Regions from separate parts of the Homo sapiens genome. Here all the other regions are linked to region 1. Evidence: promoter capture Hi-C in 16 types of primary human blood cells and fetal thymus (Javierre and others, 2016). All regions are on one chromosome and are shown on one strand. The core of a region is centred on a gene start or on the middle of the fragment in contact, and the rest is flanking DNA. Distances in the headings are between cores, read along the strand shown. Region 1 holds the start of GBE1 (1,4-alpha-glucan branching enzyme 1). Region 2 overlaps LINC02008 (long intergenic non-protein coding RNA 2008). Region 3 has its middle 360 kb from the start of LINC02027. Region 4 overlaps LINC02008 (long intergenic non-protein coding RNA 2008). Region 5 has its middle 340 kb from the start of GBE1. Region 6 has its middle 280 kb from the start of GBE1. Region 7 overlaps GBE1 (1,4-alpha-glucan branching enzyme 1).

The links. The method cuts DNA at HindIII sites, captures the fragments that hold promoters and counts their contacts. A CHiCAGO score of 5 or more calls a contact.
Region 2: a fragment that was not itself captured here is called in contact with the fragment with the promoter of GBE1 in region 1 in 1 of 17 cell types (naive B cells); the score reaches 5.7 in naive B cells.
Region 3: a contact is called between a fragment that was not itself captured here and the fragment with the promoter of GBE1 in region 1, in 1 of 17 cell types (endothelial precursors). The highest score is 5.0, in endothelial precursors.
Region 4: a fragment that was not itself captured here is called in contact with the fragment with the promoter of GBE1 in region 1 in 3 of 17 cell types (monocytes, M0 macrophages and neutrophils); the score reaches 10.6 in monocytes.
Region 5: a contact is called between a fragment that was not itself captured here and the fragment with the promoter of GBE1 in region 1, in 1 of 17 cell types (endothelial precursors). The highest score is 7.8, in endothelial precursors.
Region 6: a contact is called between a fragment that was not itself captured here and the fragment with the promoter of GBE1 in region 1, in 1 of 17 cell types (M0 macrophages). The highest score is 5.5, in M0 macrophages.
Region 7: a fragment that was not itself captured here is called in contact with the fragment with the promoter of GBE1 in region 1 in 3 of 17 cell types (monocytes, M1 macrophages and M2 macrophages); the score reaches 6.4 in monocytes.

What each region holds. Positions count from the first base shown.
Region 1 is chr3:81,759,681-81,763,240 of GRCh38, reverse strand. It overlaps GBE1 (1,4-alpha-glucan branching enzyme 1), which reads left to right and starts at 1,596. Exons shown (of 16, transcript NM_000158.4): 1 at 1,596-1,866. The coding sequence starts at 1,724. RefSeq lists silencers at 1,368-1,467, 1,968-2,047 and enhancers at 1,123-1,731, 1,518-1,807, 2,148-2,317. The HindIII fragment of the contact is 5,689 bases long and covers 895-3,560 here.
Region 2 is chr3:82,204,424-82,207,983 of GRCh38, reverse strand. The region is part of intron 3 of LINC02008 (long intergenic non-protein coding RNA 2008); the gene reads right to left. Among named protein-coding and RNA genes, the nearest start is that of LINC02008, 220 kb to the right of the region's middle. The HindIII fragment of the contact is 4,818 bases long and covers 1-3,560 here.
Region 3 is chr3:81,347,681-81,351,240 of GRCh38, reverse strand. No RefSeq gene overlaps it. Among named protein-coding and RNA genes, the nearest start is that of LINC02027, 360 kb to the right of the region's middle. The HindIII fragment of the contact is 1,543 bases long and covers 786-2,328 here.
Region 4 is chr3:82,113,113-82,116,672 of GRCh38, reverse strand. The region is part of intron 1 of LINC02008 (long intergenic non-protein coding RNA 2008); the gene reads right to left. Among named protein-coding and RNA genes, the nearest start is that of LINC02008, 130 kb to the right of the region's middle. The HindIII fragment of the contact is 3,167 bases long and covers 356-3,522 here.
Region 5 is chr3:81,418,246-81,421,805 of GRCh38, reverse strand. No RefSeq gene overlaps it. Among named protein-coding and RNA genes, the nearest start is that of GBE1, 340 kb to the left of the region's middle. The HindIII fragment of the contact is 1,338 bases long and covers 1,077-2,414 here.
Region 6 is chr3:81,477,537-81,481,096 of GRCh38, reverse strand. No RefSeq gene overlaps it. Among named protein-coding and RNA genes, the nearest start is that of GBE1, 280 kb to the left of the region's middle. The HindIII fragment of the contact is 856 bases long and covers 1,206-2,061 here.
Region 7 is chr3:81,495,025-81,498,584 of GRCh38, reverse strand. The region is part of intron 15 of GBE1 (1,4-alpha-glucan branching enzyme 1); the gene reads left to right. Among named protein-coding and RNA genes, the nearest start is that of GBE1, 260 kb to the left of the region's middle. The HindIII fragment of the contact is 958 bases long and covers 1,172-2,129 here.

The DNA of each region.
Region 1 (3,560 bases), core at 347-2,846:
GGTGATTCATATGCACATTAAAGTGTGAGAAACACTGGTACAGAGAATGGAGTAGAGGTGAGAAAGAGTAGAAGAGGGGAAGTCAGTTAGAGAGCTACATTCTGGTCCAAGTGAAGGAAAACAGTGGCCTGCATAAGAGTGACAGCAGGAAGGATGAGAAGACGGATTCTAGGTCACGTTTTGCAGACAGTTTGTTTAGGTCTCCTAGCCAGCTAAATGGAAATCTCAGTAGACAGGCAGTGATACAAGCCTGGGTTTCTGAAAAAAGTTTAGGCTTGGAGATGTAGATCTGTGGGTCTGTTATTAATAGTTGTCCTGCTTCGGGTTTTTATTTTTTTTTAATTTTCTTCCTTTTTTAGTGCTTTATATTTTACAAATGTCTGCAGCAGTTTTTTGTCATCTTTATGGAAAACAAGGCACGTCTTAAAGTCGTTCAAGTCCTTCACTTTTTCACACTGAGGTCTGTCTTCATATCCACTTATCTTTCAAGTCTATGAAACCCCTTATAAAAACTTTCCTTTGAAATATTTTAAAATTCAAGGCCCACGGCTGATTAATACTGTTTCTCCTCCATAACCCCTAGGATCCTCCAGTTCTGGGTTTTAACAAGAAAAATATCCTCAATCCTCTCTAGTTTCTAGGTGTAAAGCAGCTTGGACCCTCCTGGGTTTGGTGGGTCCATCTCTCTTGGAGTCCAACTCTGTATTCCTAAAAAGCAATTATTGAAATAGAAGCTAGTCAGTTAATGGCAATAAAAGAAGGGAATTCCAAGTGGGAGCTTCCCAAGCCAAGAGGAAGAGAGGTTTCTTGCCTTATCACTGTAAGTGGCAGAGTGGAGTTCCAATTCAATGATATCATTTGTGTTATCAAAGGTAGTTTAATCGTTGAAAAGCTTGTTAACAATTATAAACACAGGCAAATGCCTTTTCCTTTTTGGCCTTACGGAGAATGAGAAAAGTTCTTCCCATGGCTAAAATTCTTAGCTGTTGGTAATGCAGAAAAGAGTACCAGAACAGCAGAATTCCAACGGTATTCCAGGATTCTGTGTCTTGGTTAATTTTAAATTCACGTGACCTGGCAAACTTAGGAGAGTCCTGGTTGTAAGAGGTATTAACATTTTCAGCAGTAGTACTCTAGCTACACTTGACTGTTCCCCTCTCTGTGAATTTACATGATATGTTTGAAATACTGCCCCTCAAAAGTCTCAGAACTTTGAGAAATACGGTCCTTTCCAAAAAAACCCCTTATGTCCAATTTGAAGGGGTCGCTGTCAGTGGGTGCTTAAGTGGGTAAAGAAAAGCCAAGAATATGTCAGGGTGAGGAAGGCCAAGGCTGAGCGAGGTCAGCTTGGGACCCACCTCCTAGAATGACCTCCGCCAGCAGGAAAAAACCGTTAAGGGGAGGAAAGGGCAGGTCCCTGCGGCCTCCAGGTGCCAGCCGCGTGAGTGGGCGGAGAGGCCTCGGTGCCTCCTACCCGCTCCGGACGTGCGTCCCGGCATCACCCCGGGATCCGCTCCTCCCCGCTGGCGGGGGGAGAAAGGGCAGGAGGCCTTCCGTCCCGGCTATAAAGGGCCCCGGACCGCCGCGGCTCGCCTCGGCTTGCCTCGACACGCCTAGGCGCCCTCCGGCTCCGCCCTAGCCGCCGCGTCCCAGCTAGAGCTCCAGCGCCCGCTCAGGCCCCACTCGACCTCTCGGGCCTCGGCTACTTGGACTGCGGCGGAATATGGCGGCTCCGATGACTCCCGCGGCTCGGCCCGAGGACTACGAGGCGGCGCTCAATGCCGCCCTGGCTGACGTGCCCGAACTGGCCAGACTCCTGGAGATCGACCCGTACTTGAAGCCCTACGCCGTGGACTTCCAGCGCAGGTACCGCCGGAATCCCACCACCCCCACTTAGACAGGCAGCCCGCCTCCCAGGAGCCGTCTCGGGACACGGGCCGCCCCTCGGCCCTCGCGCGCCAACCCCGCCCCAGGCGGGGAGGAACCTGAGTGGGCGGGGCTCGGGGTGACTCGGGTAACCGGGTTCTGTGGCTTCCGTAGTGGCAGGTTTGACAGCGCTGGTGCCCGGAGCGGGCGCTGAAGAAACTTCTTTCCTCATCCCCTTTCCCCTCTGTTCTAATCAGCGGTCTTGCGCCATAGGGTACGTGCTGTGGCTCCAACACTTATTCCCCAGAGTGCTGCTGGGGAGTGACTCACCGCCGCTGCAGGTTTTCTGACTTTGGCACCCACTAGCGTGGGCCTGTGGAGTAACGTGGGCATAACTCCTGGCACGTGTAATTACGCATTTAAAACTTTCTAGTTTATTTCATAGCAAATGTTGTGATTTTATATCTAAGAGGATTCCTTCAGGCAGACACTATATCCTTTTGTTTTTTCCTTGCTAATATTCCTCATTTAGGGGAAGATTACACCTACATTGATCAATTTTTTCTCCCCTTGGATCAACATTGAGAAGTTAAATGTACATCAACATTTGTCCGTGTGTGACTTTAACCATCTTGAAGAGGGAGAAAGGTCAGGAAAGCAACTTTTACAGGCCAATGTCGTTTTAGCTTGTCTTCTACCATTGTGTACCATACAACTTTAGTTACTGGGCTAATAATTCTATTCATAAGTTCCACTAAAAAGGTACAGGTCTTTTTCTGTTGTCGTTGTTGTTTGAAGTAAAAGAGCTATTATACAAGTTGTAATAGTTATACTTGTGAGGTTACCCCATTTTGATTTAATAGTTTCTCCCCTTTTAGGAGAGACACTGCAGAATGGAAACTATCCTGGCAACAGAATATACATGGCCAATTTTTCGAGTGATGGAAAACATCCAACTAGTTAACTGGCATGAAGGAGCGTTGAGAGTAATGAAAATGGGTTGATTTGGAGTTTGAAAAAAGCCCAGCAAATTGTTTGTGTCCTAGCATTTTCAGGTATTAAATGCATTCAAATCAGCAAGTGTTTATTGAGGAACTCCTATAAATAAAACACTGCTCTAGGGATTGTAAGGGATGTGAAGTTTCATTCTTGAGCTTGTATATAGTAGTGAATGAGGCCTCTGTAAAATAATCACCTTGAGCTGTCCCTCACTTAATCAGATGATTATGCTCTTATATAAACCATATGAGGAGCAGCCTTGTGAAATTGTTTTCAGAATTTACAGTATATGCTTTCAGAGAAACTTAGTGCATAATCGTCATAGGTTTAAGGTTGGATTTGATTTAGAAATAGTCAGAAAAAATTTAGAACAAAAGATAGTGATTAAAGGTAGTGGTTAGATTTTTTTTTTGATGTCCTTGTAACCATGACATTAATTTACCTGTGTGCTTTGTAAAAGGACACTTAAGATATTTATTAAAGAAGAGTTGTGGAAATGTTTTATCTACACCCCCTTCCTTTTTTTTTTAAATGACACAAACAGATTAACATTCTTTATTAAGTGTTTCTTTCATGTACTTTATTTCCAACTCCACTGGGATTGAAGCATTTATAATCTTCTTTCATGGTTTGCCAAAACTAATGAAGGGAACAAAGGCCAAGATAAAGAAGGGAAGAGAATCCAGTGTGCTTGG
Region 2 (3,560 bases), core at 623-3,122, 440 kb before region 1:
GCAGCATGAGAACAGACTAATAAACAACTATTATGAATATTAATATAAATACATAACTCCTCTTATAATAATTGTAGCTCTAGAAAGTATTAAGATTCCTAAATGCAGTCTTATATGTCTGGGGTACCAGAAGTTATGAAATGGAATTGGAAACCTTGGCATTTAAAAAAATTAAGACAAGTTTTGATTTAGATACTGCTGAAGCACAGAATCTCTTTTATTTCTCTTTCTCCAATAAAAGTGCTAATGCAAGCAAAAGAAGCTATTAGCATCATTAAGGAGTAATATAGTACGATTGCCATGAGAAATCTAAAACAAAACTAACAAACTGATATGATTTGGATCTGTGTCCCCAATCCAAATCTCATGTAGACTGTAATCCCCAGTGTTGGAGATGGGGCCTGGTGGGAGGTGATTGGCTTATGGGGATGGATTTCCCCATTGGTGCTGTTCTCCTGATAATGAGTGAGTTCTCATGAGATTAGGTCATTTAAAAGTGTGTGGCACCTCCTGACCCTCTTTCCTCCTGCTCTAGCCATATGAAGTGCTGGCTCTCTCTTCACCTTCCACCATGATTATAGGTTTCCTAAGGCTTCCTCAAAAGCCAAGCAGATGCCACCATCATGCTTCATGTATAGCCTGTGGATCCATGAGCCAATTAAACCCCTTTTCGTTACAAATTACCTAGTCTCAGATATTTGTTTACAGCAGTGCAAGAGTGGGCTAATCCACAGACAAGTGTCTTTCATCCAGTAAGTCACTTTCGGTGAGTTATAGAACACCTGATCACTGTGAAAGAATTCTAAATTCTATCCTTATAAATATTCCACATCTTCTAGTGTGTAGTATTAATTTTTCTGAGTCCTGTAACAAAATCTATTTTGGCAAGACCTTCTCAGGATAATGCAATGCAATATCATATGGATCATTCAGCCTGAATAATAATTTCTCAACTGATATCTGCCGCAGCCAGCCTTTCACATAACAATGCATCTTGTCCAGCCTCATGCTCCACTGGCTTTCAAATGTCTTGCACTACTGGCTCTCTGAATTTAGCTGTTGTATCTCTAGAGTTCAGGAAATTCACAGAGGACATGACTTTTTGCATAAGATTACTTCTTCTTTAAACTGACTCAAGTAAAACTGTGCTCCCGAGGTTCTCATCAAGCAAGTATGTTTTGCTGCCATTAGCACACTGATGTTTAAACTTCATAGGAGTAAAAACAAGAGTAATAGCTAAGTTTGTTTAGATCTTACTTTGTGTCAGTCACTGACTTAAATATCGACCTTCCTCATCTCACTATTTTGAACATACTTTACATAAGTGAACAGAAGTTAAAGAGGGGAAGTAATTTGGAACAGTTCATGGGTTACTAAGCTGTGATCCTGGATCAGAGGAATCCCGTTCTTACTTCACATTTTTTTTCTCAGCACCAGACTTGCCACCCCTCATGTTTTGTCCATTTGTCCAACATCTAATGAAAATATTTTCTCAACATACTAAATAAGAAAAACATTAATTTAAAAAATTAGTGATTTATAATCTTAAAGGAGGCAGATTATGAAATTGAAGAAAAAACTAGATTGAGACTTTAGAAGTATGGGAGATAGCTAGAATTTAGCCATTGACCTGCTAAGTGAATTACCTCACCTATTTATATAACTTTTCACAACTGTAAAGTAAAAAATTGTATTAAATGATAAAAACTTATGAATGTCCAAATGTCCAGCATCCTTACCAATACATAAATGATATTGAAGGTCTATGTTTGATATTATATGGAACATGGTAATGTATTAGCTGTAAACATTTACTCACCTTGCTGTCACTTTAGATCATGTGCTTTCCCTTGAGGCAACTCATTTAAACTTCACAGCAGCAGCAGGGAAAACAATATAATAGTCATTTTGTGATTGTGAACATTACATAATCTGCCCAGTGTCAGACAACTAGCTCAGAGTATAGATATGAATTTAACATTAATGTCCCAAAAGATAAGATGTTTTCAATGTGGTATAGACACATGAGAAATATTGAACTTTATAATGCACAAATATGGAGACTTGTTGTCATGTCAATTTACAACTGGCTGTTGTACAAATCTGAATGAGATTTGGAAGTGGAAGTGAAAGCAATCTCCATGTTTACATTTAAGGGTTAGTGTAAGAACTGTTTCTCAACATTTTTTTAAATCATTGCCTTCCATATAAGTCTTTCAAATATTTTCCCCTAATTTCCTCTCCCTCCTTTTGAAATTAAATACTAAGTAACAAGATTTTGTCAAGTAGAGTTACGCCACTGAAGACCAAGAATCATGTTCATAGGAATTTTTCCCCACCCCCCACAAAACCAATTTTTGTCCCCTTGGAGGTGACATATCACCCCGACTGTTATAGGTCAACTGATACCACCATTGATATAGGGTCATATTAGCACTGCCGCTGATACTGGCTTAACCTGTTGCCTGAGGCACCAGTTGTGCCTGCAATTCTAGCTTCTGCAACATTTCCTCTATCACCTTCTACAAATCCTGGACCAGGTATGTATACAGCTCCACTGATGAAGGCACTGGCACGATCTGCCTGTTACCCATATCATCAAAGTTGCAAGAGGTGAGACAGAGGCATACAGGCTCCAGTTCAATCTTTTGGATTTCTGTCCATTCTCCCAAATTACAGCTTGTCATTGTGATACGGACAGGAGGCAAGGAAATACTGAGTAGATGAGGGTGGTTCCCCAGCAAAGGCCCCACCTTCAAACCTGGAAACCCACAGGCCTAAATGGAAAGAGGCATTCCTGTTTTCACTCCCAAATTTTGCCTTTTCCAACACCACTCTGGCCCACCACTCCCAGTCTTGTAGCCATAAAAATCCGAAACCCTAAGCTCCATGAACGGAAGAGCGGCAGAGAGGCAGAGCAGCAGAGTGACAGAGCAGCACAGCAGAGAAGGAGAAGGAGCATTTGAACGTCCAGAGGAGTTTGGCTAGGGTTGGAGAGGAAATCAGCTGTGGAACAGCCCAATTCTGGGGAAAGATCATCTTCCCACTCCATCTCCTTTCCAGTTCCTCATCCATCCCACTGATAGCCACCTCCATCACTCAATAAAATCCCCACATTCACTATCCTTCAAATCCATGTGACCTGATCCTTCCTGGATGCTGGACAAAGGACCTCGGTACCAAGAGGGAAAGGTGTAAAAGGTTGTCACCTTGACTCTCCACTGAACTGGTTAAACACTTAGCTGTCCACGAATGGCAACTGCTAAAAGAACATTAATTGTAACACACTCCTAGACGCCACTGTGGGACTGGAGCCCAAAAGTGCTTGCCCTGGCTCCTACCTGTCTGCATCTCCCCTCCATAAAGGGTTTGAGCACATGGCAGCCCAAGCAGGTTCCACGAGTGGGTCAGAGAACTCTCCCATTTCAGTTGCTCTCCTTCACATCATCTTTCTTCTCTATTGCTGGCCCTGTTGACTTCAGGTCCAACACAAGAAGCAGGAATAACTGCCTAAATAGGACTGCAAAACCAGTTTTCACAATTGGATAAGGTCAATTACC
Region 3 (3,560 bases), core at 308-2,807, 410 kb after region 1:
TTAAAAGAGGGGAATGATATAGAGGAAGGAACACATTGGAGTTGAAAGGGGTAATAAATGCTGTCGGCATACCCCTACATCTCCTTGGCCTACTCTAGATGTTATTGGCAGGCAGAACAAAGAAGAACCAAAGTTCAGTTTGCAAGTGAGGGTGGCCTCAAATGGAAAAAGTTTAACTTTCTTTTTTTTTAGGAGAATGTCTACGGAAAAAGACTGGGTCCAATGGAAAGGATTTATGCCAGTGCTCACAAACATGATACAAGCAAATACAGGAGGTGGAGGTAAAAAAAAAAAAAAAAAAAAAAAAAAGCCTTAAAGAAGTATGTGTGTGTGGGCAGGGAAGAGAGGTCGTGATAAGGCAAGAAGAGGCTGTTAGCTTGTAGGAGTGATGGAGAAGATGTTCACAAACGACAGTCTGAGTTTGTGAGCATGGAAAGAACTATACCCCAAGTAAAAAAAAAAAAAGATATACAATTTAGGTATAATTAATGGAAGAGAGGGTTAACCATAGTAACCTTCATTCATATGACTATGTAAATACTGATTTGTTCCCTAACTCACCAACCATAATGTTTCCATTTTTTCTCCTCTAAGCCCTTTAATGCTTATATTTAGTTGTAGTACAGCTGGAAATATATATTTTTCTTCATACAAGCTTGCTGGCATAGATTTTATTTCACTTTCACCTGGCTTAAGCATCAGTTTTGATGACATTCAAGTGAGTGACCATTTCTTCCTGCCAATTTATGAACTAGAATGAATGGTTTGTAAGAAACATAAAAGCTTTTCTTCCAAAAAAACCAACACTAATAACTATATTTCACCTTCTTTATATTTACCTCTGGGATACCTTTTAACTTTTTTTCATACCAGTTTAGAAAAAGAACATAATTGTAAAATGAAAACCAAGCTCATTTGATACTGTTGTTGGAGAGCGAATAAAACCTAAGTATTGGGAAATGAAAAACTTGGGATTTGATTAAGAAGTGCAGAGCTTTAAGTGACACTCCAATGCCTTGGGCTGGAGTTTCAAGAAGTTGGCAAGGGAATTGAATCCCCCAGTGCTCAGGCTTATGACGGCAAGAATAAAGCTATTTTTATTCTCTAGGCAACAGCTTTCCTCTGCCAAATTTCCCAAGACTCATACAATGAAAGCATCCATCCCAAAATGATTAATGCAAATTTAGTAATTGTGCACATGGATCATTTCTCTGTCACCCATTTTATCCATAAAACGTGGCTTTCTCTCCATGCATGCATTGCTCATGTTTTGTGCCATTCACCTGTTGCTGGGGGCATGGAACAAATTACCTCTTTGTGTGAGGCTGCAGGAAGAAGAAATTATCACATTTGTGGCTGGCACCCCCTACTAAACCAAGCGTGTAATTATTTGAATCAGAATGATGGTATGCACAAAGTCAGATTTATCTTGGGTATCAGAAGAAGAGCATATGAGGTCTGACCCACAGCTGGACAGTTTCCGAAAGGGAGGATGGGTGGGAGGAAATAGGCTTCTGTTAAAGAAGATAAATTTTTGGCAGAAAAGACAAATTTCATTAGAAGCCAATGAGACCTCAGGGGTTCTGGCTTTTGTAGAATTTTAAGTGAAGTGAGTTCAAGTGCAAGGTTTTGAGCTGAGAGCCCTGGGGAGGTTAATCACAAAAAGAAGTGTTGTGTTGCCAACCTCACAGTGTGGACTGCCCCAAAGCACCTCACACAAGAACCTCAGACTTAATCAACCAAGAAGGCTCAGAGGAGTAAGCTAGAAGGACCAAGGACCCTCAGGCTTGTGATATCCCTTTCAAGTTTCCAGGAAACACTGATGCCTGCTTAATAGGGCCTTTCTGGAAACGAGTAGCTCCTTTTCAGAGGGCACCAATCACCTTTAAGTTGTGTTTGGTCAGAGCTTTAAATTGACAGTGTAAGACAGAGTAGCCACAGTAAGGCATGGGCCACCGCCACAGAAGCCATTTGCTGGTTTAACATCCCACTGCTTTCTAGCACTCCCATTTACTGAAAGGCTAGATGCTCACTCAGTTCCTAATCTGAAAGGCTATATGCTTACTCTACACTCTACTGGTGGAGCAAAGTGTCTATGGAATTTTTCTTCTGCCACCATAGACTGTCAAGCAGATTTCCTGAAACAAACATGCGCTTTTAAGCACCAATTAATGATAGTGGATTAAAAAAATGCATTTTTTTCATATAGAGAATGCAAAGAAACCTATACATAGAGCGCATGGCTGCTTATACATGTCATCAAAAGATGTTAGGCACAGAGTCAGGTGACCTGATGTATCCCCTTCTCAAATGTCTTGCATCTAAGCTTTTTGAAAATCAATTGTATGGACATTCCACTTTTAAGGAAGCTTAACTATCTGTCTCTTCTTGTGTTAGGATACACTGGGAAAAGAATAACAACAAGAACAGCAATAGTACACAACATACAAAAACAGACGGTTCCAGTTGACAGCCTTGTAGGGAAAATTTGTGAATGGCATAGAAATGGACAAAACCCAAAAAGTATTGAGTGTCCTGCGTAACACACCTTTCCTGGTGATCTGGTTCTATTTGGCCTTGTACCTTTCATCTTCTTTGAACTATTTAGTAACACAAATAATTCTTGTCTATGCAAATTATTAAATTTTGTCCAGTAGAACGCAAGTGATTATTGCCATGTGGATATTCATCAGATTTACATTCATTTGCAAATTTATTTCAGCATTCTTGATTGTCTGTATACATGTAAACACTTTGAATTCTATGAACCAATAGTAACATCTTACTGGTACTCTCACTAATGAATTAAATAAAATATTTGCCACATATTCATTTTATAACTTTATACAAGTTATCATACCAACTTTTAAAAAATATCTTTTATTAGCGTCAATACAGAAGTATTTTTGGTTTTGTTTTTGTAGTTTTTCAAAATAATATCTGTGCTGAGTCTCTTGCAAATTCATTTTCAGTTGAAGGCATGACTTTTGAGATTATAATTAAAACCATTGGTTAGCAAAGATACAGGATTAGATTTTTTTCCTTTTAATCCTTCACAATATAAGGAGTAACTCAGGTAGGAAACTTCATGATTGCTTCTAAAGAAGCCTTCTATTTGTATTCTTTGATGCAACATCACTGTAATGAATGTTATCACAGTTAGAACAAAAGAAAAATAAATGAATATTGGGGACTATTGAATTAGCTCTTTAAATGACATCTGCTTCATTATAGCTTACATATTCTCTAATAGGTATTTTTGACTAAGAGTAAAGGAAAGATCTGAGTTCAGCTAATATATCATAGAGCATATTTTTGAAGTTTACATCGTACCAAATTATTCACTTGAATGAGATTTATGCTAAGGGCCTCAACTGATAAATCATGAGTGTTTAGGAATCTGGTTTCCTGAAAAGTTTTTTCTCCTTCCTTCTTGGTAGTTTTTTTCCCCCCATCAGTCAAATATAGTACATCTTAATAAACCAGAATAAATCCTCCCAGGACAAGATTATAAGCCTTTTTTCCAAAATTTCATATTAATAAGTTGTTTTTCAGCAATA
Region 4 (3,560 bases), core at 690-3,189, 350 kb before region 1:
CCCTAGTCACCTCGAGGATGGACGAGGGAAGGACTCATTCTAATTGTGAGATCTAGTAAAACATGTGGGGATTATGAACATGTAGTACATCTAAGATTTCAACTGTCAAAGACAGATGGAATAAGCTCCCAAATTTTGAAGCAGTAGCAAAAATTTTAAAAAAGAGTTTCAGAGGAGAGCTTTTACAGGGTGCGTTAGAGATAAAATGAGAAAGTATGATGCGACAAAACATTGTATTAGGTGAGGTAGACGGTATAAAAGATGCACTTAAAAAATTATAACAAGGCCCAATAATGGACAGTCTTAAATTCCATGATCAAAAATTTGGGATTTTTAAAACACATGTTGAGAAGCTTATTAACATTATCTGAGCTCATGGCTGTGAAAACAGATTTGTATGGGGGACCACAGCCCTGGAAGAGATTTTTTTTTTTTTTTAAAGTCTGAACTAGAATTATTGTGTGAAATTTAGAACTGTTATTTGTAAGGGATCAAAAAAATTAAAAGAAGTTAGATTGGGGTTTATTCAAAAAAATAGAATTTATTTTATCATATAACTAAAAATCAAGAAGCTGCTTAATTCTGTAGGCTCAAAAGATATCACTTCAATCCAATTTATCTTCCTATTTCTATACTACTCAATGTCCGCTTTATTCTTAACCTCCATATAATTACAAGATGTCAGCAATAGGTCCAGGCATACATTATACCAGATTTATGACCTATAAAATGTTGAATAAGATGTCTCAATCTTTTCTCAAGAAACTGACAAGCCTATTCCAAAATTCACACAGAAAGAAAAAGAACTTGGCAAAATAAAAATTGTTTAAGTAAAAGGAAAGCTGAATAACTTATACTGCTATAATCAAGCTAGTTTAATAGATCTAGAGATCAGCGGTATAGAATAAAATCAATAAATAGACTGTTACTTATATGGTCAAGTTGCCAAAAGAATTCAATGGAGGAAAGAACAGTCTTTCAACAAATGGAGATGGAACACCCAAATGTCTATGTGGGAAAAAAACAAGCCTCATATGTTATCTCATACTATATGCATAAATCACTTCAAAATATACTCTGTATCCTAATGAAAAAGCTAAAACAATAAAATGTTTGGAAAAACAAGAAAAAAAATTTGTAACATTGAAGTAGGCAATAATTTTTTAAATAGAACACAAAGAGCGTAAGCTATATAAAGAAAAGATTGTAATTATACTTTATCAAAATTAAAAGCCTTTGCTCTTTGAAAAACACAGTTAAGAAAACAAACTACGGACTATGGGAAACTGTTTGCAAAGCATACCTAGAAAGGGACATGTATCCAGGATATATAAAGAACTCCTGGGGATGGGGCCAAGATGGCCAACTAGAAACAGCGGATATCAGAGGCTGTCATCGAAAAGAACCGTTAATTAGCATGTGAATCCTTCATTGGCAACCATGGTATCATCCAGATTCTCTCATCAGAACTGACTAGGTGACTGATGTGATCCACAGAGAGCAAGAAAGAGCAGTGTGGTGCACCACCCACCTGAGAGCCACATAGAGAAGGGGAGCCCCCGACCCCTAGCCAAGGGAGGCAGTGAGTGAGTGTGCTATCCAGCTGGGGAAACCGTGCTTTTTCTACAGAACCATGCAACCCACAGATGGCAAAATCCCACTGGCAAACCCATGCCACTGGGGCCTAGGTTCCCAACCCCAGAGCTGTGCAGATTCTCAACAGCCTGTCAGCTGAAATCTGCATAAGCCTGCGAGCTCCCCAGGAGGAGAGGCGACCAGCACCACAACTGTGGCTGCCTGCTGCCTAAGCCTTTTGAGCTCCTTGGAGGAGGGGCATCAGCCAGTACTGGGACTCATAACTGCCTAACACACTAAGCTCCCGGGGCGAGGGAAGGGCAGCATCCATCTCTATAGCTCCAAGCCACGTTTTTCCCCTGCTAGAGCCAGGGAAGCTGGATGGCTTGGTCCCCAAGAGATGTCCCCCAGAGTCCAACATACCAGTTGCGGCAGACTGCAGCCAGAGGGCCTCTTCAGGGCTGACCCTGACACATCCTTCCTCACTGGGAGGGGCTTCCCTGCAAGAACTCCAACAACTCCACCCAGAGGCTCAGGGACGGAACCCGGATCTCCCTGGGCCTGAGCCCCTGGGTGGGAGGTGGCCACAGTCTCTGCAGACCAGCAGACTTAGCCTTTCTTCCTGGTAGTTCTGAAGAATCCAAGCAGCCCAGATGAGTGGGTTTCCCCAGCGAAGCACACCCCCTCCACCAAGGGACAGTAAAAGTGCTTCATTAAATGGGTCCTGTTCCCTGTGCCACTCAACTTGGTGAGACCCTCCAACAGGGGTTGTCAGACACCCTATACAGGAGCGATCCTACTGGCATCAGGTGTGTGCCCATCAAGGTTAGAGATCCCAGAAGAATGAGCAGGCAACCATCTTTGCTGTTCTCCAGCCTTGCTGAGTGACATCTCCAGGTGCGGGAGCAAACCAGATGAATAGTGCCTAAAGTGAACCCCCAGCAAACTGCAGCAGCCCTACAGAAGAGGGACCTGACCATGGAAAGAAAAACAAACACAAAGCAACGACGACAGCATCAACAACAAAAAAGTCCCTACAAAAACCCCATCCAAGGGTCAGCAGCCTCAAAGATTGAAACTAGACAAACTCATGAAGATGAGAAATAATCAACAAAAAAATGCTGAAAATCCAAAAGGCCAGAGTGCCTTTTCTCCTCCAAATGATCACAATATGTCTCTAGCAAGGGCACAGAACTGGACGGAGGATGAGATGGATGAATTGACAGAAGTAGGCTTCAGAAGATGGGTAATTAAAAACTCCACTGAGCTAAAGGAGCATGTTCTAATCCAATGCAAAGAAGCTAAGAACCTTGATAAAAGGTTAGAGGAGCTGCTAACTAGAATAACCAGTTTAGAGAGGACCATAAATGAACTGATGGAGCTGAAAAACACAGTACAAGAACTTCATGTATCAATAGACAAATCAACCAAGTGGAAGAAAGGATATCAGAGTTTGAAGACCACCTTGCTGAAATAAGGCATGCAGATAAGATTAGAAAAAATAATAATAATAATAAAAAGGAACAAACAAAGCCTCCAAGAAATATGGGACTTTATACAAAGACTGAACCTATGACTGATTGGAGTACCTGAAAGAGAGAGGGAGCTGGAAAACACACTTCAGGATATTATGCCGGAGAAGTTCCCCAACCTAGCAAGACAGGCCAACATGCAAATTCAGGAAAGAAGGAGAACACCACTAAGATACTCCACAAGAAAATCAATTCCAAGACACATATCATCAGATTCTCCAAGGTCAAAAGGAAAGAAAAATGTTCAGGGCAACCATAGAGAAAGGTCAGATCACCAACAAAGGGAAGCCCATCAGACTAACAGTGGACCTCTCAGCAGAAACTCTACAAGCCAGAAAAGACTGGGGGCCAATATTCAACATTCTTAAAGAAAAGAATTTTCAACCCAGAATTTTATATCCAGCCAAACTAAGCTTCATAAGTGAAGGAGAAATAAAATCCTTTTCGGACAAG
Region 5 (3,560 bases), core at 496-2,995, 340 kb after region 1:
TTACCCAGTCTCAGGCAGTTCTTTATAGCAGTGTGAGAGTGGACTAATACATCTATATTAATTGTTTAAAGACAATTCGTTTTTTTCTTTTCTTCTATTTGTGAATTCTGCCCTTTGCAACCATGAAGAATGAGATTTCATTGAAAAGCATGAGTCAGATAGTAGGGTTTGATTCTGTATTTGTCAAGCCTACTTTGGTTCCTAATAAAATCATATACAAGCTAGTTTTGGGGAAATAGAAAATTATTAGCTCACGTAAACGTAAAGACAAAATGCAGGACTGGCTTCAGGCATGAGTGGATCCATGCGCTCAAGTGATATCCTCATGACACTGCCTCTCTCTTCACCTGTTTCACGTCTCGTGAATTGACTTTGTTCTCAGGCAGGTTTTCTCTATGTTGCAGGGCTTAAGGAACTCCTAGTAAAAACCATCGGCAGTTGTTACCATCCAAAATTAAAAGAAATTTTGTGAGCATCTAAGAAGCATTTGCAAAGTAACACTCAAGGTTTTGCATTGAAAAAGAGGAAGTCTAATGTCTGAAAAGAATGTGACTCTGAGTTATAAGGAGTTTTGAAAGAGCATCCAGCTTATGAATTAGAAAGCCGAACTCAAGCCACTTTCCTTTTATATTTCATTGTAGTTTAACCTGCACTATTTGATCAATCTTTGTATATTTCTTAGATGAAAAATGCACATATTTTCCAAAAGAACTGATTTATATTTATAATTGTAAATTAAAGAAAATCTCATCTCTCTTTATTTGGGTTCTCCTTACATTTCTATGGCACAACGTTGTTGTTTTTGCATGGAAGTCTCTTAAGTTAAAGGTGCTATTTTATTTATTGCCCATTAATAATTAAAGTGCTTGGATTTTATAAGAAGGTATATATCTCACATCTGTCATATTTTTAAAAGATGTGTTCACTGTCAGTATTTGTATAACTAAGAATTAGAAACCTAGCAACTTAATTTAGCTCTAAAATGATTTTCCTTCAAAACACAACTAAAAAAGAACAAAGAGCATTAGTTAAGATTCTATTGGTTTTAAGTGTTCAAAATAGAACTTGTCCAAGCTTAAGTAAATTGGTAACTTAATAAGTGGCTGCTAGGCTCTCTCACAGTTGGGAAGGTAAGAAGGCTCAGCCTCAGAAATAACTGAAATCAGGAGCCAAATTCCCAAGAAACTCCATCCACCTGCTTTAATATTTCTCTTTGTCTTTCATTCACTTTCCTCAACTTCTCCAACCCCCACAGGAGGAAAATATGGTTGCCACTAACTCATAAAATGTATATATATTACAGCTTCAGTCGCTGGAGAGAGGCCTCAGCCACTGGAGACATACTTGTTCTCCTTTTTCACAGTTTTATAAATCTTTAGAAAAGACTCTTATTGGTCCATATTGGGTCAGCGACCCAGCCTGGTCACAAAGGCTGGAATTTGAAAAGAACATTGTCCAGCTTTTGTCAAATGCTTATGCCAATTGGGTCAGATACCCAGTTGTAGTCCGTAGCCAGTATTATATCACGATAAAATATTGTCCCCATAGTTATCATGTATATGGGGGAGGAATCATCTTTCAGAATAGAGGGTTCTGCAATATTAGGTATGCTAGGAGTTTCTCACAGCAGTGTTAACTTTAGGAGATCGTTCAAGTCCTCATTACAACTTTAACATATGTACCCAGCTATGACTGGATTTTATTCTTCAACATCATTGCTAATAATGTTACACACAAAGTGAGCTTGTCCATTTTGATGCCACTTGCACTTATTTTAATTATCATCTCCTACTAATTTTATTTCAGTTCATCCATGATAACCCTTGAATATAATTAGCATTGAAAATAAATATAACTAACTTTGATTAAAGGAATAGCAGTGATTATAGAATTAAACAGATATGTGTGATGTATTATAAAAACATGTATTCTTTGGAAATTGGCCATGTAAGATATTTGTTTTGTAAAGGACATGTTTGAGGTGGAGAAGATTCTAATGACAGACTCACGCACCTATCTTCTACTTTATATTTCTCAAAGGACTCTTATTATTATCCTTCGAGATCTGCAAAATTCCTATAACAAAAGCTGTAACTAATCTTTATCATTATAAAGGAATAGTTCGTTTTAGAAGCTAGCTGAAATCATTAATTAGGCAAAACTTTTCCAGAACATCCAGCATACCAAAGAGACACTGCTAGAAGTCACTGGAACACCATCTTTTTACAATTAGGTAATCACAAAGAAAAAGATTAAATTTTAGAAAAAAATGTAATTCACTTTTTAATGCTTTGTTCCTTAAAAGCACATATATATCTGAGTAGCTTATTAAACTGAAAATCATTTCAATAGGTGGATTACACAGAATTGCTAAGAAACTGAATTTAGGCCAGTCATAAAAATTTACTAAAGCTTGCCATCTAGAGGTCTATAGGGGTATACTTTGGAAAGTACTTTTAGAAACATTTTCTATAACCTAATGTCCTGATATGTATAAGTTTAATGTATTAAATGAAGATTAAGATAAAAAGAGAACATTTCACTTATTACTGAATCTACACTTGACATTGCAAATTTTGGACCTTTAATCTTAAAAGAACGCAAGGTTGCTTCTACTTTTTTCTTACATAATCATTCTGGTAGCTCTAAGAAATCTTTTAGGCAATCCAGTTTACATTTTTTTCTTACTATTTGAGAAAAAGAACAATACATTAGAAGTTGATAATGTGTATAGTGTGCATATGATGATAAATATTTTCTTCACTATCAAGACTGATTGTTTTAGGGTTCTTGGTGAGTATTGCTGTTTGATGGATGAAAAAATAAAGTTATTCATATTAAATAATTATAACAGTATGGAAGGAAAAATTCCCTGATAATAAAAGTGAAGGGCATCAATCTAAAGCTGAGATTTAAGGGCTTGTATTACATCCTTAGATAGATATGTAATATACATGCATGTGTATGTTTATGTAAACAATGTGATCTTGTGATGTTTTTGGTACTTTAAGAAGTAGTTGTAATGCGTAGATCATTGCTATAATAGATTACACAGTGGAAGCATTTATCAAGACTGCAATTGTGTTATTATGAATGTTTTACAGTTGTCAGCTCATCAAGGCTAAAATAGCCTTGTTTAATGTGCTTTAAAATGTAGGTTATGGGGCCACAATAGAATTTACTTCAAATGAAAACTTCCCAATCAACTGAGTTGAAGGTTTTGAACTTTTAATTCTCACTACATCACAGGGTGATTGTTTTGGCAGCAAGACAGACAAGATGTGCGGTTGCTGCCATTATTCATGCTTTGTCAAGAGGAGGTGGTGAGCATTCCATGTGATCTGGGCAAACATGTTATGTCTTAACAGGAGTGGAAAACACTGAAAAAGTGCTTTTTAATTTTTAAAAACTACATCTATGCCATACCAGTATTAGATTATTTCACTTCTTCCATTTTAAGAGACCCTCTTTTAAGATGTACCTTTGAATTAAAATCAATGTTTGGGGGAGGATATCACCTGATTAAATGTACACATTTACATGTGATTTCAGGATGTTAA
Region 6 (3,560 bases), core at 384-2,883, 280 kb after region 1:
ATGCAAATTAAATATTAAAGGCCCTGAAAATTCCTAAAATAAGGAAATTGATCCAGCATTGTTTAATTCAGTATTTCCCAAACTCATTTAACAGTGTTCAACTCAGTTCTCATTCACAGGGAACATCAATAACATCTTAGGGGAAAAAGCTCTATTTGCCTAAACACAGTATACAGTAACACAAAGATAAATTTATCTCTCCTTTTTTTTAATGTGTCTATGACCAATAACTCCCTCCTTCTAACTCCCTTTTGTGTGTGTGTTGTGCATTTGCCATCCATTTTCCTCCATGGTCACCTGGTCTAGGAGTCAACATTTCTATTAAAATGATGATCTCGTGATTAACTGTCAATGGACGATCTTATTTCTTTAGATCCAGAAATCTCTTGATAGGTTTTTTAAAATTGATAAATAATAGTTGTACACATTTACAGAGTGGGTGTGATTTTTGTTACATGCATAGAATGTGTAATGGTCAAGTCATGGAATTTAGGATATCTATCACCTTGAGCACTTATCATGTCTATATGTTGGGAATATTTCAAGTCCTGTCTTCTGGCTATTTTGAAATACACAATGCACTGTTGTTAACTAGAGTCGCCCTACTCTGCTATAGAACATTAGAGTTTATTCCTTCTATCTAACTGTATGTATGTACCCATTAGCCATTCTCTCTGCCCCACCCCCAGACATTCGTCCCAGACTCTGGTACCTGTCATTCTACTCTCTATCTCCATGGGATCATGAGAGGTGTTTAATTGGATCCCCAAGTACTGACCTCAGAGTTCTCTTGAATGAATGTTTCTGGGTTATGAGAAATCTGAAAACCAGATTAACGACCAACTTCTAGAAACAGAGTAGGATGTTAGGATAAACATTTCATTTAATTGCTGGATTGATCTGCTTTTTTTTCAGCCTAATGTTTTCTTGCTGATTACTGTTGCCTATATTTTAAAATTCATTTTTATATCACTTATTGTAGTATATGTATATTTGTGAACTATTTGCATTATTTTTGGAGAAAGGCAGTAAATAGATGATGGATACACAGATCATAGATAAGTACATAAATATATAGATAGATAGATGAATAGATGTTTTAAATATGGCTTCTGGTGTGATGGCATAGTCCACAGTGATCTGTTTCAATATTTTGTGACTGGTTGCTGAGGAACCACTTAAAGCTAGTGAGAAGTGCAGAAGCTTCCCTTGATATTTTATTAGTATAAAACCTGGATTTTCTAAATTCATGGAGATTTCTGCTTAATGTTGTAAAAACAGGATGTTATTTCTCACTCTAATGTGTAAAACATTGGAAAGTCTATACAAAAAATAATAAATGTTCTGGGTGTGGCAAAATAATAAATGCTTATATGCACTTAATCAAACTTCCATTCCTTTATATATCTAAATCATTAAAAAATGTATATCATTTACATAGATACATGTGAAAAGTTAAGAGAAGCTCTTAATATGGGACAAAATAAAAAATAATATTGGATACAGGAATATATATTATACCCTGCCTTTATTGACAGGCAGTCATAAAAATGAAGTTAATAATGTTCAGCTTTCATTTTGTTCTTTTGAAGGATCATTCTCAAAAATTATTTTTGTCTCTCCTGGCCAGTTATTCCTAGTACTTCTCATAGAACTAGTACGAGCATAAAGTGGGTCTATTCTTGACATTCTGACTAGCTAGCCAAATGTCAGTTTAAAATAGACAATGTTGTTATTGATTCATTATTATTCGTTCATATATTGAGATACTGTGCCAGGTTCTTGGAAAGTAAAGATAAATAAGATAGAATTTCACAGCTTAGTAAATTGACTGTAGTCACAAAGGAGCAAATAGATTTGTTACTGTGTCAGAGTCTAAGAGTCACCTATCTAATGTCCATTCTTCTGTCTTCCACAGTAATAGAACCATTATTCAGGTGCCAAATTACAAGTTTCACCCATGTGTCTAAATTCCAGACAAAAGAGGAAGTTGGGTGGGACTTCTGGGATTCCTGCTTAAAAGGAAAAACAGAAAACTCAAACATTTACTATTAACAAGCTTCTCCTTCAGCTGCTTGGAATGTGTATAAAATGCTGGAGATCTGCGTCTATCTTAGCTATGAGACAACTTTACATGCTTGATGGCAGATGGGAAAGAAGGATGCAGATTTCCAATAATTTCCAATCATACAATTCTGAGCTGCCTTTACTCACTTTATTCACGTAAAAAAAAAAGCCCTTATATATTTACTAATATATTTAGGATTTTCTGTTACTTGCAGTCAATACAATCCTAAATGGTTCACTTATCAATGAAACTAAATGATCTCAATTGATAAATCAATCAAGAAGTTGGCCTTGGATACATAAGATTCAAGTAGGTATATGAGCAGGGCTCTAGACATACAGAAAGGAAGCACATTAGTATATTAGAACTAGGAAATTACATTGAATGCTCTCTAAACATACATTAATTCCTTCAACATGAACTTGTAGTCCAAAATGATGGAAGCACAATATCTGTGAAGAAAATGATTTAAAAATAAAGGTGTAGTAAGTTAGAACCAGTTTATAAATAGCCTTCAATGTCTAAGCTAAGAAGACTGAATTTAATTTCTTATGGATTATAGAGTCATTAAAAATTGTTTACAAAGTGAGAGAAAAATATTTAGAGCTGAAGAAACCTTAAAATCCTCTAATGTAGTGATTTTCAAAATATGCAATGAGACATCTTCATTAACACCTACATGGTGGGCAGGGAGGGGGCTGGAGCAGAGTTTGGGGCTGCTTACTGGGCATGGCTTCGTGGCGCTGAGAGCCCTCATTCATAGGAACTCTATTTTAATCTGTTTATAATCCCACATAGTAATGCTTTTAACAAAATATCCCAAAGTGAATAGTATTTCAAATCTACCAATCTATGCCAATGTTAAAATTTTATTTATTGGAAAATTTTGACTCAGAGAAGTCTTTGCCCATTATCCCACTATGAGTTAGGACTTGACCACAAGTCTACAGAACACTAGCCAGTTTCTGTATTTCGTTGTAGGGTGCAAATCAGAGATGTGCTTTAAGATCTTCTGAAATGTGCTTTGAAGAAAATAAATGTCAGAGGCTGGGCTACCAGTTATAACCTACTTCAGTTGCTACACCAGAGATGGTGATGGGCTGAAACCAGAGAAGTTTCGGTAGAGCTACACAGGTAGGGATGTGTATCAGTGATCCTTAATAGATTCTAAGCCTCTTTTGTCAACAGTGTAACCAAACCTCTGCTTTTAATTCCTTGTGCTTTAAGCTCTCAGAACAGTTTCTCCTTTTCTGATTGCATCCTGACTGATTCATGGTCAATGCCCTACCTTTTACTGAAGAGAACTGTTGAGGTTGTGAATTTAACTTGCATGGTAATTTTGCAGGCTGCAGCCTCAAAGTTTGGGCCTGATTTTTTAATGCATAAGTCCTGAGGCTACAGAAGATAAAAGATGATTCCAGTCCAGGTATAGGCATTCTAGTGTTCTGATCATGCCTTGAGCTGAGAGTTTAAAATCCTGAGCATTCTTGTT
Region 7 (3,560 bases), core at 401-2,900, 260 kb after region 1:
GAAGCATTATATGACATAACTAATTTTTGCATTGTGGTGTTCACACAAATAGAATGTTAGAATGTTGCTTTAAACTACTATGTTTAAATTCTTTAAAATATGTAGAATTTAGTAAGTTTCTAGATTCAGAGGAATTCATTATTTAATTTATGGCCATATAGTAGGTTCAAAACCACATCTACCATTCCTAATTCTAGGACGTACCTAACAAATACATGACTTTACCATAGCTGTTAAAGTTCTTATTTCATTAAATTCTCTCACTTTTCAAAGGTTTAGATAGGAGTCAGGCATGAGGATCTCTGTGGTACCCCTAGGTCTTCCATCTTTCTACTGTTTTCCCACTTCTCAGAGTGATGCCAGCACTCCACTTTGTAAGCTGCCATATTATATATAAAAGTGATATGCCAAAGATCATAGCATAAAATCATTGAAAAGAGCAGGGATTACAAAGAGTGAGTTGCTGGATTATGGGTTGTGAGGAAAGTGCAGTGGAAAGTCCTATGAGAATTAGGTGTTGCCCTAAATGTATGTGTGTGCATATGGGTGTATGTTGATGATGACACTGATACAGCTTTAGATATATTTGGAGAAAGATATATATTTTTAAGAGAGAGGGCTCAAGGGTGCTATCACATTCTTAAAGGAATTATTACTGTAGTCTGTGAGAACATTCAATTTTGACACGTAAAATAAGTTTGATAAAAATAGTTTTGGAAGTGAATACGAATATTACCATAAAGTTCTGAAATAATCAAAAGAGTTAGATGCCCTTAGGGGTTAGGAAAGATGATTCAGCTCACAAAGGGGAGTCATTGGGAAGGAGCAACTGATTGCAAGCAAACTGAACTTTCACTGATGGAACTAGACTGAAAGGACTTGGAAAGACTCAGACAGCAAAATTCTTACATAGCCAGCTTTTCTAAATGTCCGTGTACCCCAACAGGGTTCTGTTATGAAGAACCTGAAGGTATAGTGAAAAGATCACAAAACGCCATGGCACAGGACCTGGAATCCTGACCCTTGTCTGCCATTTACTCACTGAGAAATTGATTAATTTAACTTTTTTTGCACTGCAGTTTCCCCCACCTGTAAAATGAAGATGATTCATATTATCTTCCCTACAGCAAGAGATTCTTAGGAAGCAGAAACTCTTTAACATGCCCAAGCTTTTTGGAAACTGTAAAATGCTATTGCACATGTATTTTAAAGTTGTACTTGTCATGGAGAGGCAATTATTGTTCAGTCGTTTAAACATGTCAATATACTAAGTGTTTCCAGGACACACAATTAAGAATACCTTCTCCCAGCTTTGGGGAGATGATCTTCTTAGGCGACGGCTCAGACTCTTTTGAGGTGGGCAGAAAATATCTTGGCATCCTTTCAATTTTGTGAGAGTAAAGATCTGCTGGCATAATTAAAACAAGCCAACCAACAAGTGGCAGCAACATCAGGAGATTACTTTTCAATCACTAATCGAATTGATCTCACCAGTGTGGAAAATGCAGTTGTAAATTATCAGGTAGAATAAAGAATGTCTCATAAGTATCAGTAATACATAGAGGAGGACAGCACTGCAAGGACATGGGAAACAGAAAAGAGCTGAATGCTGCCTGCAACAGAATTGTAATCCAACACAGCCGTGAGATAAGGGCTAGCTCTCTCTTCCCAGCAGCAACATCTTGTTTTGGATGACTACAGTGCTTCAGGAATTACTCGTTTAAATACACCTTTAGGCTCCAGATGATAAGATCACTCGTTTTAATGTGAGATTAAGGGAGCCCACACAGACGAGTAAAATACAGAAAATCTAGACAAACGGGTTTTCTTTTTACCTAAGTTATTCAGCAAAGAGCCAGAGGAAGAAAAATCACATTAACAAATGTACCTATTCTAATAATGCTTCATTATAAGAGAACTCCTTATTAAACTGAGTCATATGTGCTGGGATCCAGTGGAGTTGCTTGAACATGATCATAAGTGCTGTAGGTCTTATACCACTTCCAGTGAGATCACTCATACCTCCCATACTTGCAGACTAAAAGGAGGAAGGAAGAACAAAACGCAACTTTTCCTTCTTCCATGAAATTTTTGCCCATCATAACTAGTACACAGCATTTGCTAAAGCTTAATTTGCAAGCTTAATAATCCAAAGGATCTGCTGAATAAGTGTCAAATCTGTTTTCAAAGATAGCAACAAACAGCCCGAAGGAATCTTAAAATAGCCATACATGCTGCAGCATCAGCAGGTACCGTTCTAGCGTTGTCTCTGTGTGCTCCCTCAGTTGAAACTGTGAAGCTGGGGATAACTGCATGTATACCGCCATTGAAATGTATTTGCTAAGGTCAGAGTATGTCACAAATGTCCAAAAGCGATAGGGCAGAGCTCTGCCAGTCTGCTTTACTGGCAGTTATTGGAAACTCCATTTTAGCATAATCATTTCTCTATATTTTGATTCCTGATACCGGAACTTAATATGTTAACCTATATGTTAATCAGTGCACTGGAGGCAGGGGACTTCCTTTCTCTCCTCTGATTCATAAAACCAAATTCCATAGCACAAATGAGAGATAAGAGATTATTGAGCCTTAAATGAATTAGATTTCTTTACGGTAACTGAATGATGATGCTGAAAATGAGAATAAAGCAGTAGGTTTAGCACTAATTACTTTGGCAATTAGGTTTCTTATCAATAAGAAGTAGATGTATTTACTCTCATTCTAAATTTGGAGGTTCAAAAGTAGACTTGATTTAAATACAGGATTTGGCATAGATGTATCACTTTTATTGCCCCTCAGTTGTAAGTTTTAATACAGCTTAACAATTGGAAAATATCTTCTGCTCTATTCAAAATTATGAAAATAGTTTTTTAGAAGAAAGAAAATCTTGATTTTTAGTTTACTTTTTTAATGTATACAAGTTAGATGAGCTAATATACATTTCTGTACAGAAATACTAGAGTCACTTTTCTCCTAACCCCAATGCAAAATAATGAGAATTAGAATACAAGAATAAAATTTATTTTTTCTTAGAAAAGTATTTTATGAACTAAAGCATGTATGTGAAAACTAAAATTAATTTATATCATCTTTATATTTTTCAAAAAACTGTGATTTTTATTATAAAAAAGTGTTTATGTAGACTATGAAAGAATCTGATGACTTTTTCATTGAATGATGTTTGTTTGTTTTTTGTGAGACGGAGTCTCACTCTGTTGCCCAGGCTGGAGTGCAGTGGCGTGATCTTGACTCACTGCAACCTCTGCCTCCCAGGTTCAAGCAGTTTTCCTGCCTCAGCCTCCCGAATAGCTGGGATTACAGCCGCACACCACCACGCCCAGCTAATTTTTGTATTTTTAGTAGAGACGAGGTTTCATCATGTTGGCCAGGCTGGTCTCAAACTCCTGACCTCAGGTGATCCACCTGCCTCGGCCTCCCAAAGTACTGGGATTACAGGCGTGAGCCACTATGCCCGACCCACTGAATGATGTTTTCATTCTACCAGAATTATATGTGTATGTGCTATTTCTAAACTTAACAATTTCTAAGGGAATTTTTTA